Linked DNA regions of Homo sapiens: regions 1, 3 and 4 are each linked to region 2. Evidence: promoter capture Hi-C in 16 types of primary human blood cells and fetal thymus (Javierre and others, 2016). All regions are on one chromosome and are shown on one strand. The core of a region is centred on a gene start or on the middle of the fragment in contact, and the rest is flanking DNA. Distances in the headings are between cores, read along the strand shown. Region 1 overlaps LOC105377721 (a long non-coding RNA gene). Region 2 holds the start of SMIM23 (small integral membrane protein 23). Region 3 overlaps FGF18 (fibroblast growth factor 18). Region 4 overlaps FGF18 (fibroblast growth factor 18).

Region 1 (2,700 bases), core at 114-2,613, 310 kb before region 2:
AAATTTTTGTAGATACGGCGTCTCGCTTTGCCGCCCAGGCTAGTCTCAAACCCTGGGCTCATGTGATCCTCCTGCCTCGGCCTCCCAAACAACGGGTGAGTCTTGATTCATTATAGCCCATCACGCTAACTGCATCCCCTGTGCCAATAACTGGCTTCAGACGCGGCATGTGATCATGTTCTGGCCAATGAACTATTAGGGTCCGTGGGGTGGTGTTGGAGGTGGAGCATGTTTCTAGAGAAGTTTTATGATTCTTTTTTTTTTTTTTTTTTTGAGAAGGGTTTCACTTTGTCAGCCAGGCTGGAGTGCAGTGGCGTGATCTCAGCTCACTGCATCCTCGACCTCCTGGGCTCAAGCACACCATGCTCCGCTAATTTTTTTATATTTGTTGTAGAGATGAGGTTTTGCCATGTTACCCAGGCTGGTCTTTAACTACTGAGCTCAACGATCCACCTGCCTCAGCCTCCCAAAGTGCTGGGATTACAGGCGCGAGCCACCATGCCTGGCTTCATGATTCTTAAAAACAGACACAAGGAAGTCATGATTCCTTTTTTGAGTCTGCATTTTGGTGAGGATGTGAGGGCTGGAGCTGTTGTAGCTATCTTGAGACCATGAGGAAAGCTAGCTGCTGCACTGAGGATGGCAGAGCAAAGTGATGGAACGAGCTTGAGTTCTCGATGATATTGTTCCACTGCCGAATTAAGCCATATGGGGTCTTCTCATTGTCTCAGATAACAAAACTTTTTTGTAGTTAAGTCTCTTGCAGCTGGGTTTTTTGTTACGTGTTGCTAAAAGCTTCCCAACTGATACAGAAGAGGAGGTAGTATTTGAAGAATGAGTCTTGGAGAGAAAAGAGAGAGCTTTTTAGGAAGGGGATACAGTCCAGACAAAGATGTTGAGGAAACAGGAAAAGTACATGGGAGGGCAGTAGGTCCGTGGCAGGTGTAGTTCTAAGAAGAGGCCAGATAGGGCTCAGCCCATTAGGCGCACCCCCTTTCCATTCCCTCTTTGCCTCTCTCTATCCATTCATTCCTCCTTTATTTGGAGGAGGGTCTTTGTTGCCCAGGCTGGAGTGCAATGGCACAATCATGGCTCACTGCAGCCTCAACCTCCCGGGCTCAAGTAATCCTTCCACCTCAGCTTCCCAAGTAGGTGGGACTACAGATGAACACCACCAGCTGAGCTAATTCTTAATTTTTATTTTTGTAGAAACAGGGTCTCACTATGTTGCCCAAGCCGGTCTCAAACTTCTGGACTCAAGCGATCCTCCCACCTAGGCCTCCCAAAGTGCTAGGAATACAGGCATGAGCTATCTCACCCGGCCCCTTCATTCCTCTTGAGGGGCTCCTCTTCTTCAACCGGTGTCCTCTCCAATGTACCTAAGAGGAAGATGCAGGTGGCAGAAGCCTGAGCTTAGACATAAAATGTTTATTGAGTGCTCATACGTGCCAGTCCTGTGCTGAGCTGCAGTGAATGAGAGATGGTTCCTTGGAACAGAGCTCCCAGTTCAGAGACAGAGACTAAAACATAAACCTATGTTTCTAAACATATGGTCAATTTCAGGCGAAAGAATTTCAGATGGCTTCTGGACTAACATTTGCTTTTTATTTTAACGTTACAAGTTTATTTTGATGATCAATTTCTATATATGATAGAAATATAAATTTTCTTTTTAAATACATTTAAGCAAATAAATAAAGAGTTAATTTAAGGAAAACTAGGTGGTAATGTTACAGGTGGTATGTGGATATAGTAAAACTTGTGCAATGAGAATTAAGTAAATATGTGCATGTGTGTGTGTATGTGTGAATGAGTGACATGTTTGTCTGCTCAGTCTTTTTTCCAGGCATATGAGAGCAGTCTTCTGTTCTTTTAGGAACTGGTGCTCCTGAATTTTATATAGTTTCACTGGGAGACACCCTGTATATGTGCAAGCTTCCCCACTCCCACCGTAGTTGATTGGTCCCGGATTTTTCAAACATGAAAAGCCCCTCTCTGGTGGCAGAGGCTATGAGGCACAGCTGTGGGCGACCTGTTCCTTGCCCTACTATGGACATTGAGTTGGAGAGAAGGAAGCAGGCCAAGAGAAGGAGAAACAGGAGATATAGTTGATTCTCATTTCTGGTGGTAGTTATGTTCTGTAAAGTTGCCACAAATGAAACTAGTGAACACCAACCTATTGCTCCCAGAGGAACCACAGGTTAGGTTCCTGTGAGCTTCTGGTCACAGCATTTTCATCCATGGATCAACACATACCTTGTTGTATGTGTGTTTCTGTTTAAACACTTTATTTAATATATATTGTTGATTCATTGACACTCAACGCATGGTCAGCAGCACCGTAACTACCGGACGAAGCTTCTCCAGATAAAAATGTGGCACTAAATGGACCTTGAAAAGGATGCTTGTTTATAAAAAGAGAGCTGAACAAGAAGAAGGGCATTGCCTTGTTTGACCTTAGCTGGAAACATGTGCATCATGTGACTCAAAAAATTATCACAGCCGGGTGCATTGGCTCACACCTGTAATCCCACTGTTTTGAGGTCAGGAGTTCAAGACCAGCCTGGCCAACATGGCGAACCCCGTCTCTATTAAAAAGACAAAAATTAGCTGGGTGTGGTGGCGGGCATCTGTAGTCCCAGCTACTTGGGGGTCTGAGGCAGGACAATTTCTTGAACCCGGGAGGCAGAGGTTGCAGTG
Region 2 (2,700 bases), core at 120-2,619:
TGAGCCGAGATCGTGCCACTGCACTCCAGCTTGGGCGACAGAGTGAGACTCTGTCTCAAAAAAAAAAAGAACAAATAGTGTAAACAGATATTGGTGGGGATGAGGAGAAACCAAATCACTCATACACTGTTAATGAGAATGTACAATGGCACAGCCATTCTGGAAAACAGTTTGACAATTTCTTATAAAACTATCATGCCATGATGCTATGGCCCAGCAACTGCACTCTCAGGCATTTATCCCAGACAAATGAAACTTACGTTTACCCAAAAACATGTACAAGCATGTTCATATCACCTTTACTCGCAAGAGTCAAAAACTGGAGGCAGCTGGGTTTTGAACAGGTTTGGAACGTGTCCTTCATTATGGCATACACATATCACAAAATACTACACAGCAGTCAAAAAGAATGAACTACTGATACATGCAACAAATTGGATGAATTTCCAGGGAATTATACTATGTTTTTTTTTAAAGCCAATCCCCAAAGGTTAAATACTGTTTCATTCCATTTATGTAGCATTTGGAATAAACAAATTTTAGAAAGAGAGAGCAGATGAGTGATTTCCAGGAGTTAAGGACAGTGTGGGTGGGGTCGGGAGGCAGCAGCCATCACGAAGCAGCACAAAGCCCCTTGTAGTTTTGAAACTCTTCTGTGTCTTGACTATTGTCCTAAGTAAGCAAACCTACACAAAATTGTTTAGAATTAAACACACACACACACACACACAAATGAGAACAAGTAACACTGGGGAAGTCTGCGTAAGATTGGTAGAGTGTATCAATGTCCACATCCAGGCTGTGATCTCCTACTGCAGTGAGGCAGGATATTACTGTACCACTGGGGGAAAAATTCATAGAGGGTACACAGGATCTCTCTGTATTGTTTCTTACAACTGCATGTGAATCCACAATTATCTCCATACATTTTTCAATTAAAAATAGCTTTTATTGTTTTTTTTTTTTTTGTAATTTTTTAAAAATAGAGACATGGTCTCACCATGTTGCCCAGGCTAGTCTCAAACTTCTGGACTCAAGCAATCCTCCAGCCTCAGCCTCCCAAAGTGCTAGGGATTACAGGTGTGAGCCACTGCACCCAAACTATTGTTTTTATATTTTAGAATTAGCATTTTTATTAAAAACTTGCAAATATAGAAGAAAATAATCAGAAAAATCATCATCCTGAAACATAATCTTTTGATGCATTTCTTCCTGATCTTTGTTTTCTACACTCATGTGAAAAATAAAAATGAGGGAAGGGACTAAAAATCAGGGTGGTGGAAAGGTGGGAACCTTGCTGTCCCTACCTTCTGTGACATCAGAACTCAATGTTTGCAGGATGCCTGGTGACCACAGGTGGGGGAGGGGAAGGGTGCCCTTCTGTCTGTTGAGTGTGGTCCACCCAGGCAGCCAGATCTGAGGCCATGGCAACCCAGCAAGTGGACAGCAGAAGGCAGGTGGCAGCAGAGCAGGTGGCAGCCCAGCTGCTTGAACGGAGAAGGGGCAGCCACTGTGATGACGAGAAGCAGGTGAGGCCAGGCCAGGTACATGCTGCTTTCCTCCCATCTGGGCTCCTTTTGCCACTCCAGACAGACTAGAAGTCCCTCAAAGCCCGGAATGAATCTTGGACCCAACCGTCCCTGGATCCCACTCTGATGGAGCACAGTTTAGGGGCCTAGGCACTTCTTGCCGGGGCCATCACTGACACTGTCTTATTAAATTCTCAGCACTGCCAGCAGAAGGTATGTTCCAGGAGGACTGGGCTTTTTGTTTAGTTCCCTGCTGAATCCCTAGTGCCTAGCATGGTGCTTGGTGCCAAGTAGATGCTGAATGAACGAATGAACTGATAATACTCCTGAATTGGAGCGCTCCTGGAGGATTCATTCTCAGGGCTGAAATTCAAAACTCATGTGGGATTTCGTCAAAATGGAAAACATTAATGCTTGCTGCACACAGCCTGGTGCATCCACACCCCATCTCTTAGATGCTATCAACCTCGTTCACAGAGGGTAATCTGAGGCCCAGAAAGGCAAAAGGGCCGTACAACTGGGACATATCAGGATTTGAAAACACATCCATCTGATTTTAGAACTCCCTGAAACCAGGTTCATCTGCTATGAGAACCCTGAGCAAGGGTTTATTCTGAGGATAAGAAGAAGCTGTTGACGGGTTTTAAGCAGAGCAATGAATGAATGAGCTCTGCTGTCTCTGTTTTCAAAAGACTTGTTCACTCATTAATTTACTATACATGCACCGAGCGCCTTCTATATGCTGGACCTTGTAGCGTATAACAGGGGCCTTCATGGGCACCCATCATGCTGCGGCTTTTCCTAAAAAGTGTTCCATAGACACCAGACCCCAGGAATGCTCCTTTTAGAAACATTCTTTACAGAATTCTGTGGCTTGGGGAAGGCTGCATACCCGCATCCCCTCCTGAAGACTGACGCTGCTCATTCACGTAAGGAAGGCTCTGAGAAGTCCTGCAACAAAGAAGTCTGCATAGCTTTGTTTACCACAGCATTTCCCACCTTGATTCTACCAGAGTCCCATTGTTTCCTTTTTTTTTTTTTTTTTTTTTTTTTTTTTTTTCTGAGACGGAGCCTCGCTCTGTCACCAGGCTGGAGTACAACAGTGCGATCTTGGCTCACTGCAACCTCCTCCTCCTGGGTTCAAGTGATTCTACTGCCTCAGCCTCCCGAG
Region 3 (2,700 bases), core at 127-2,626, 350 kb before region 2:
CCTTGAAGATAGGCCCCCCTTGCAGGGCACCGAGCCAAGTGACCTGCCACGCAGCTAGTAGGACAGGAGAAGTGGATGTTCCCGAGGCAGCCCCGCTATGCATGTGCTCTGGCAGCAGACCTTGAAATGGGCTTTAACTGGTGCTCACCTCCACGGGTCGCTGAGGTGCCATGTCTGGGGGTCATTTTCTTCTTCTTCTTCTTCTTTTTTATAAAAATTATATTTACTTATTTATTCATTTATTTATTTATTTCAGACAGATTCTCACTCTATCACCCAGGCTGGAGTGCAGTGGTGCAATCTCGGCTCATGGCAACCTCTGCCTCCCAGTTTCAAGTGATTCTCCGGCCTCAGCCTCCTGAGTAGCTGGGATTACAGGCATGCACCACCACACCTGGCTAATTTTTGTATTTTCAGTAGAGACAGGGTTTCAGTATGTTAAGATGGTCTTGAACTCCTGGCCTCAAGCTGGTCTTGAACTCCTGGCCTCAAGCGATCCGCCCACCTCGGCCTTCCAAAGTGCTGAGCCACTGCGACCAGCCTAGGGGTCTTCTTAGCAGAGTGTCTGGAACAGGGGAATGCTGGGTAGTCAGTTGCCTTAACACATCCCTCTGTGGGGCACTCTGGTTGGTAAGTGGGAGGGCTGATGTTGGCCTCCAGATTTCCCTCACTTTTGGCCGCCGCCTTTTGGCATGCGTTTGCTGGTTGCCTTCTGAGGGCAGAGGTGAGATTCAGGGATGAACCAGTCACACTGGACTTGGGACAATAAGCCATTGCAGTAGAGTGTTCGGGGGCCCTCACCCAGCCTGGGAGGTGGGGCTAGGAAAGGCTTCGGGGTAGGACGTGTCACACCCTCCAGAGGTCTTGCCTGGGAAGCCCGGGGTGCTTCCTGCCTTTCCAGGAGAACAGACCTTGTTTCCGAGCCAGAGGCCACCAGAGGCCACCCCCGCCACCTCCCTGGGGGCTGATCTGGCCACAGAATGGGGCTTCAATGGTGGGAGCTGGGCAAGATGGATTGTTCCCTCCCGCATCCTGGGGAAGTGCCACCCGATAGCCCCTGCTGACCCTGGGTCACCCACACTGCCTCTGTCCAGTGGGCCAGGGAGAAAATCATTAATGGGAGGCCGGCTTCTGGGGCAGGGCAGCTCCCCTTGGGGACCTGGGGGAAGGAGATTGGTTTGACCTCTGGTCGATAAGGTCTCCTGTGAGCAGGAGGAGAGTAGAAGGACAGGGAGGGGACGCCAGAGGCCTGCCCTTGGGGGAGGGGACAGGGCCAGCCACCTCCGGAAGTCATTCCAGGAAGGTCAAAGGCCATGGGTGGGGAGTCTTCCGGACAAATGCCCACCAGGTGTGGGCCTCAGGAGCACTGGAGTTCTTCTGTCCCTGAGCAGCAGGATGTGGAAGGAGGCGGGACCCAGGTATCAGACCCGGGCTGTGAGTGGTGACTGTGTGTGGCTGCTGAGGGCTGGGGGAAGTGAAGAGGAGGCACACATGGTGGGCCAGCAGGCCAGGCCCTGCCTCACTGGGCTGTGTGGTTTGGAGCAATGGACTTAACTTTTCTGGGCCTTAGTGTCTCCATCCATTCAATGAGGGTGATAAGCGTTCTCATGGTGCAAGGTTGTCAGGACTATCAAAAGCAATAGCATCTTCCCAGATATAAATCTGGTTTGCAGGGCTTCACCTAGGGCCCCATAAAGGGTTCCCTTGTGTTCTATCACTAGTTACCCCTACTGAGCCAGGCACTGCTCTGAGCACTTAATATATTGCTTTATATGTTTAACCTTTGCAGCCACTCATGAGGAGGGTGCTGTTATCATCACCCTATTTTATAGGTGAGGAAACAGGCACTAGAGTTTAATAACTTGCATAAGGTCCCTTAGCTAGAGAGTGGCACATCCTGGGTTTTGAACCCAGGGCCAGCTCCTGACAGCACTGGTGGGGCAGGCAGGGCCCCGCAAGGCAGTGGCCTGGGGCTGCCCGCAGGGGTGGGGCACAGGAAACACAGTCTTTAGGGTCACAAGGCCTGGGGTTAATTCTGCATTACTGCTCTGGGGCCTTGTCAGTGGAGCTGACAGTTTCCTCATCCATAATGTGGGATGATGCTTCCACCCTGAGGACAATCATGAAGGTTCAACAATGTGGTCCTGCTGACATACCTGTGGGCCCAGTCCAGGATCGGGAGATACATGCAGGTCAGCTTGGGGACAGAGATCCTGCTGTAGCAAATGAAGGAAACACATCCCTGCCCTTGGGAGCTCACAGCTGAGAGGTGAGACAGATGTTTGGGCAGCCAGGGTCCCAAGAGCTCTGCCATGGGCTGAGTGGGGGCGTGCCAGCGTGGGAATGGGGGTCCCTTGTGCCTAGCATTGTGATAGACTTTGTGGGCACACAGGGAACAAACCCAGAATGCTGTCTGGGCTTCAGGAATGGCTCAGCCTTGTGGTTGACATGGGATAGGACATGCATACAACCAGCAGGGTGTAGGGGACCCTGCTCCAATGGTAAATGGCACAGCAGGACTCCAGGTCTTTTCAACATTTGTTTATGTATCCATTCAAGAAGCGTTTGAGTTTCTACCGTGTTAGGTGCTGCGGATATAGTGGCAAATGAGAGACACTGCTCCAGCTTTCTCTCCCTTTTTTTTTTTTTTTTGATGGTGCTGCCAGTCTACTGGGGCCAAAAGACAAAACCCAGATAAGT
Region 4 (2,700 bases), core at 98-2,597, 340 kb before region 2:
GAGAGACTGTAATCTCTTCCTTTCACCCCATCCCATCCCCCACTTCTCTTCCCCGGGCACTTGAACTCACCAGGCTGAGGTATCCATGGCTGTGTCTCTCCTGTTGGGTGTGGAGCTCTGGCTTGCTTGGTAGTGGGAGAATCCTTGAGGGGCTCTGGGGCACCCCGGCTACATGTCCCTGACGTCTGGGAGCAAGGAACCGGCAGGCCAAGGGCTGTGGCTGCATCGATCGTTTTAACAATTGCCAGGGGCTTACCGTCCTGCAGCAGTGACCTCTGGAACCTGGCCGCCTCGTCAGCGCTGGGCCTCTTGGTTCTAGCATTTCAGAAAGATTTTATTACTTTGAAACTGGCAAGAGAGCTGCATTTAACAAATTAGGGTGGGGGCAGGAGTGGGGGTGCAGGTTGGGGGGACCCTCGGGTTGGGGAGACCCACGTGTGTGGGGATCTGAGTCTCCAATGATGCTGCTTCTCAGCACCCCTGTTCGTTTCCTGGGTGCGCTTGTTTGCAAAAGTCATGAACTGGCTTCCTCTGGGTGTTCCAATGGAAGGTGTTATCCACAGGAGCTCTATGGTAGGGTCAGGTTCTCTGTCCCCTTCTCTCTGCAGGGACTGACTCCCATATGCAGTTTGTACAACCAGGGTTGAGGGGGTTTTGCCTGGACAGGTGGAGTGGGGTGGAGGGTAGGCCTGGATTCTAAGGGGGATGGGCTTGTGCTTGGGGGCAATGCCCTGGCTGATTATTTGCGGTTCATTACATCTTGTTGGGGGTGGGGGAGATGACTTCAGTCTTGCTGAAGCCATGTTTTTGATTTTTTGAATCCCCCAAGTCTTATCCCTCTCCCTTTCCCCCATACCAAGAGGCTGGGGAGGATGTAACAGGCCAGAGATCCCAGCCAGGGCATTGTCGCATTATTTTGTTAATAATTACTGTCATAATAGCTTCCGCTAATTGAGCACTGACTTTCTGCCCGGCACTGAACTGAAACGCTCCCAGTGAATCCCAGGAGGCTGCCACCGCTACCATCCCCATTCCACAGATGAGGAAGCCGAGGCTTGGCCACGCCCGGGCACTTGTCCCAGGTCCCACACTACAGCTCGGCGGGATTCAAAGCCCGGTTTGGAAGGAAAAGATTCCAGCCGCACTGCCCACACCAACTGAGGCTTCTCAAAGAGCAAAATAATAGTAATCCGCAGAGCGCGGCTCCGGGATGCCGAGGAGTGGTTTTAATTAGTGATTCACTTTCCGCCGTTGCGAGGCTGGCCGGCCGGCGAGGGGGGTCGGGGCCGGGGCCGGGGCCACGGACTGGGGCGCGGGCGCCGGGTCCCCCTAGCCTGGCCGGTCCCCCTGGCCTGGCCGGTCGTTTCCTGTGGCGGCGCGGCCCAGCCCCGCGTCAGGCGCTTTGTTCTCCTGCCCGCCTGGGCCGCCTCCCAGGCCCAACCTGCTTTGAGTTTTCGGCTCGTTTTTCTTTCTCCCCCAGCAGGGGCCAGCGGCACCCGCCAGTGCCCGTGCCCACGCCGCGGCCCGCCCTCGCCGTCTGCGTGCTGTTCCCGGCATCTTGACCCCAGGAGGGCTGCGCGGGGGTCAAAAGAGCAGCCCCGTCCCCTCGGGCCGCCCCCCCACCCCGCCGCCGGCCGCCTCCCGCCCGCGGGCGAGCCGCTGAGTCACCGCTTCCACAGGAGCCGGCTCCGATTTCCTGCCCCCTCGCCCTCTCTCCCGTCATTAATATTGGTGACGGTTCAGCTGGCGCGGCGCACCCTGGCGCAGCGGAGGGAGGCCCGGCCCCGGCCCCCGGCGCCTCCCCCGCTCCCGCCCAGGCCTCCACGCCCGACCCCAACCCTTGCCAGCCTCCTGTCTTCTGGGCCCACCCGGGGGACTCGAGGACGCCACCAAATCCACCTGTCCAGGCTTGACCTCTGCCCCGCCCAGCGCCCCCTCGCTCTCTGGCCCCCGAGGCGGGAATCTGGCTCCTGGGCTGCGGTCCTCTCCACAGCCTCCCTGCCCAGTCGTACCTTAGGCCCTGGGTGTCCCCTCCTGCCCTAACCCCTGCCACCGCCTCTGTTCTGGCCTCCTACCATCCCGGAAATCGTTGCCCCAGCCGCCTGGCGTGTGGCTTCTGCATCTCCAGGCCTTTCCCCGCTGCCCACCTTCGGCTTTCTACAGCACATACGGCATTGGAGGGCGGCACATGACCTGCCCTCCACCCCCACCCAGCTCCAAACCCATCCATGGGTCCTCCCACCTTGCTATGGGACACCGAAGGCCCTGGGGAGCCTCCCCGGGCACATGGATTCCTTATGCTCCAGATGCGTGGCACTGAGCACCGCTGTTCCATGGACGGGGCCTTCGGGCACTGTCCATGCTGTGCCCTCTGCCGGGACTGCCCTTCCCTCTGTCCACTTGCCCTGAGTCCTGGCTGGTCATTCCCTGACCCCTCTGTCAGCCCACCCACCCCGGAGCCCCACAGTCCCTCGCACAGCCCTCTGTTGCCTGTCTGCTAACCTGGGTTGTCACTGTTTGTCTTTGTGCCTGCATCCTCTGTCACACTGGGAACTCCCTGAGGGCGGATTCTGCATCCATTCATCTGAGTTCTGTGTACCTGGCCAAAGGGCTCCGGGGGCACCAAAGAAATAGAAACATGGTTCCTGCTGTCTGTGGATTGACTCTTAAGCTACAGCCTGAATTATTCACATCAACCCA

The links. Contacts are between HindIII fragments. The CHiCAGO score rates a contact against its expected background, and 5 or more counts as called.
Region 1: a fragment that was not itself captured here is called in contact with the fragment with the promoter of SMIM23 in region 2 in 4 of 17 cell types (M1 macrophages, M2 macrophages, endothelial precursors and 1 more); the score reaches 6.2 in M1 macrophages.
Region 3: a fragment that was not itself captured here is called in contact with the fragment with the promoter of SMIM23 in region 2 in 3 of 17 cell types (M1 macrophages, M0 macrophages and endothelial precursors); the score reaches 7.0 in M1 macrophages.
Region 4: a fragment that was not itself captured here is called in contact with the fragment with the promoter of SMIM23 in region 2 in 1 of 17 cell types (M0 macrophages); the score reaches 5.0 in M0 macrophages.

Annotation. Positions count from the first base shown.
Region 1 is chr5:171,470,450-171,473,149 of GRCh38, forward strand. All of the region lies in intron 2 of LOC105377721 (a long non-coding RNA gene), which reads right to left. Among named protein-coding and RNA genes, the nearest start is that of FGF18, 52 kb to the left of the region's middle. The HindIII fragment of the contact is 1,140 bases long and covers 794-1,933 here.
Region 2 is chr5:171,784,448-171,787,147 of GRCh38, forward strand. SMIM23 (small integral membrane protein 23) reads left to right here and starts at 1,370. Exons shown (of 4, transcript NM_001289970.2): 1 at 1,370-1,529. The coding sequence starts at 1,425. The HindIII fragment of the contact is 8,257 bases long and covers 1-2,700 here.
Region 3 is chr5:171,432,174-171,434,873 of GRCh38, forward strand. All of the region lies in intron 2 of FGF18 (fibroblast growth factor 18), which reads left to right. Among named protein-coding and RNA genes, the nearest start is that of FGF18, 14 kb to the left of the region's middle. RefSeq lists an enhancer at 2,066-2,601. The HindIII fragment of the contact is 4,550 bases long and covers 1-2,700 here.
Region 4 is chr5:171,449,438-171,452,137 of GRCh38, forward strand. The region is part of intron 4 of FGF18 (fibroblast growth factor 18); the gene reads left to right. Among named protein-coding and RNA genes, the nearest start is that of FGF18, 31 kb to the left of the region's middle. RefSeq lists an enhancer at 1,526-2,097. The HindIII fragment of the contact is 7,697 bases long and covers 1-2,700 here.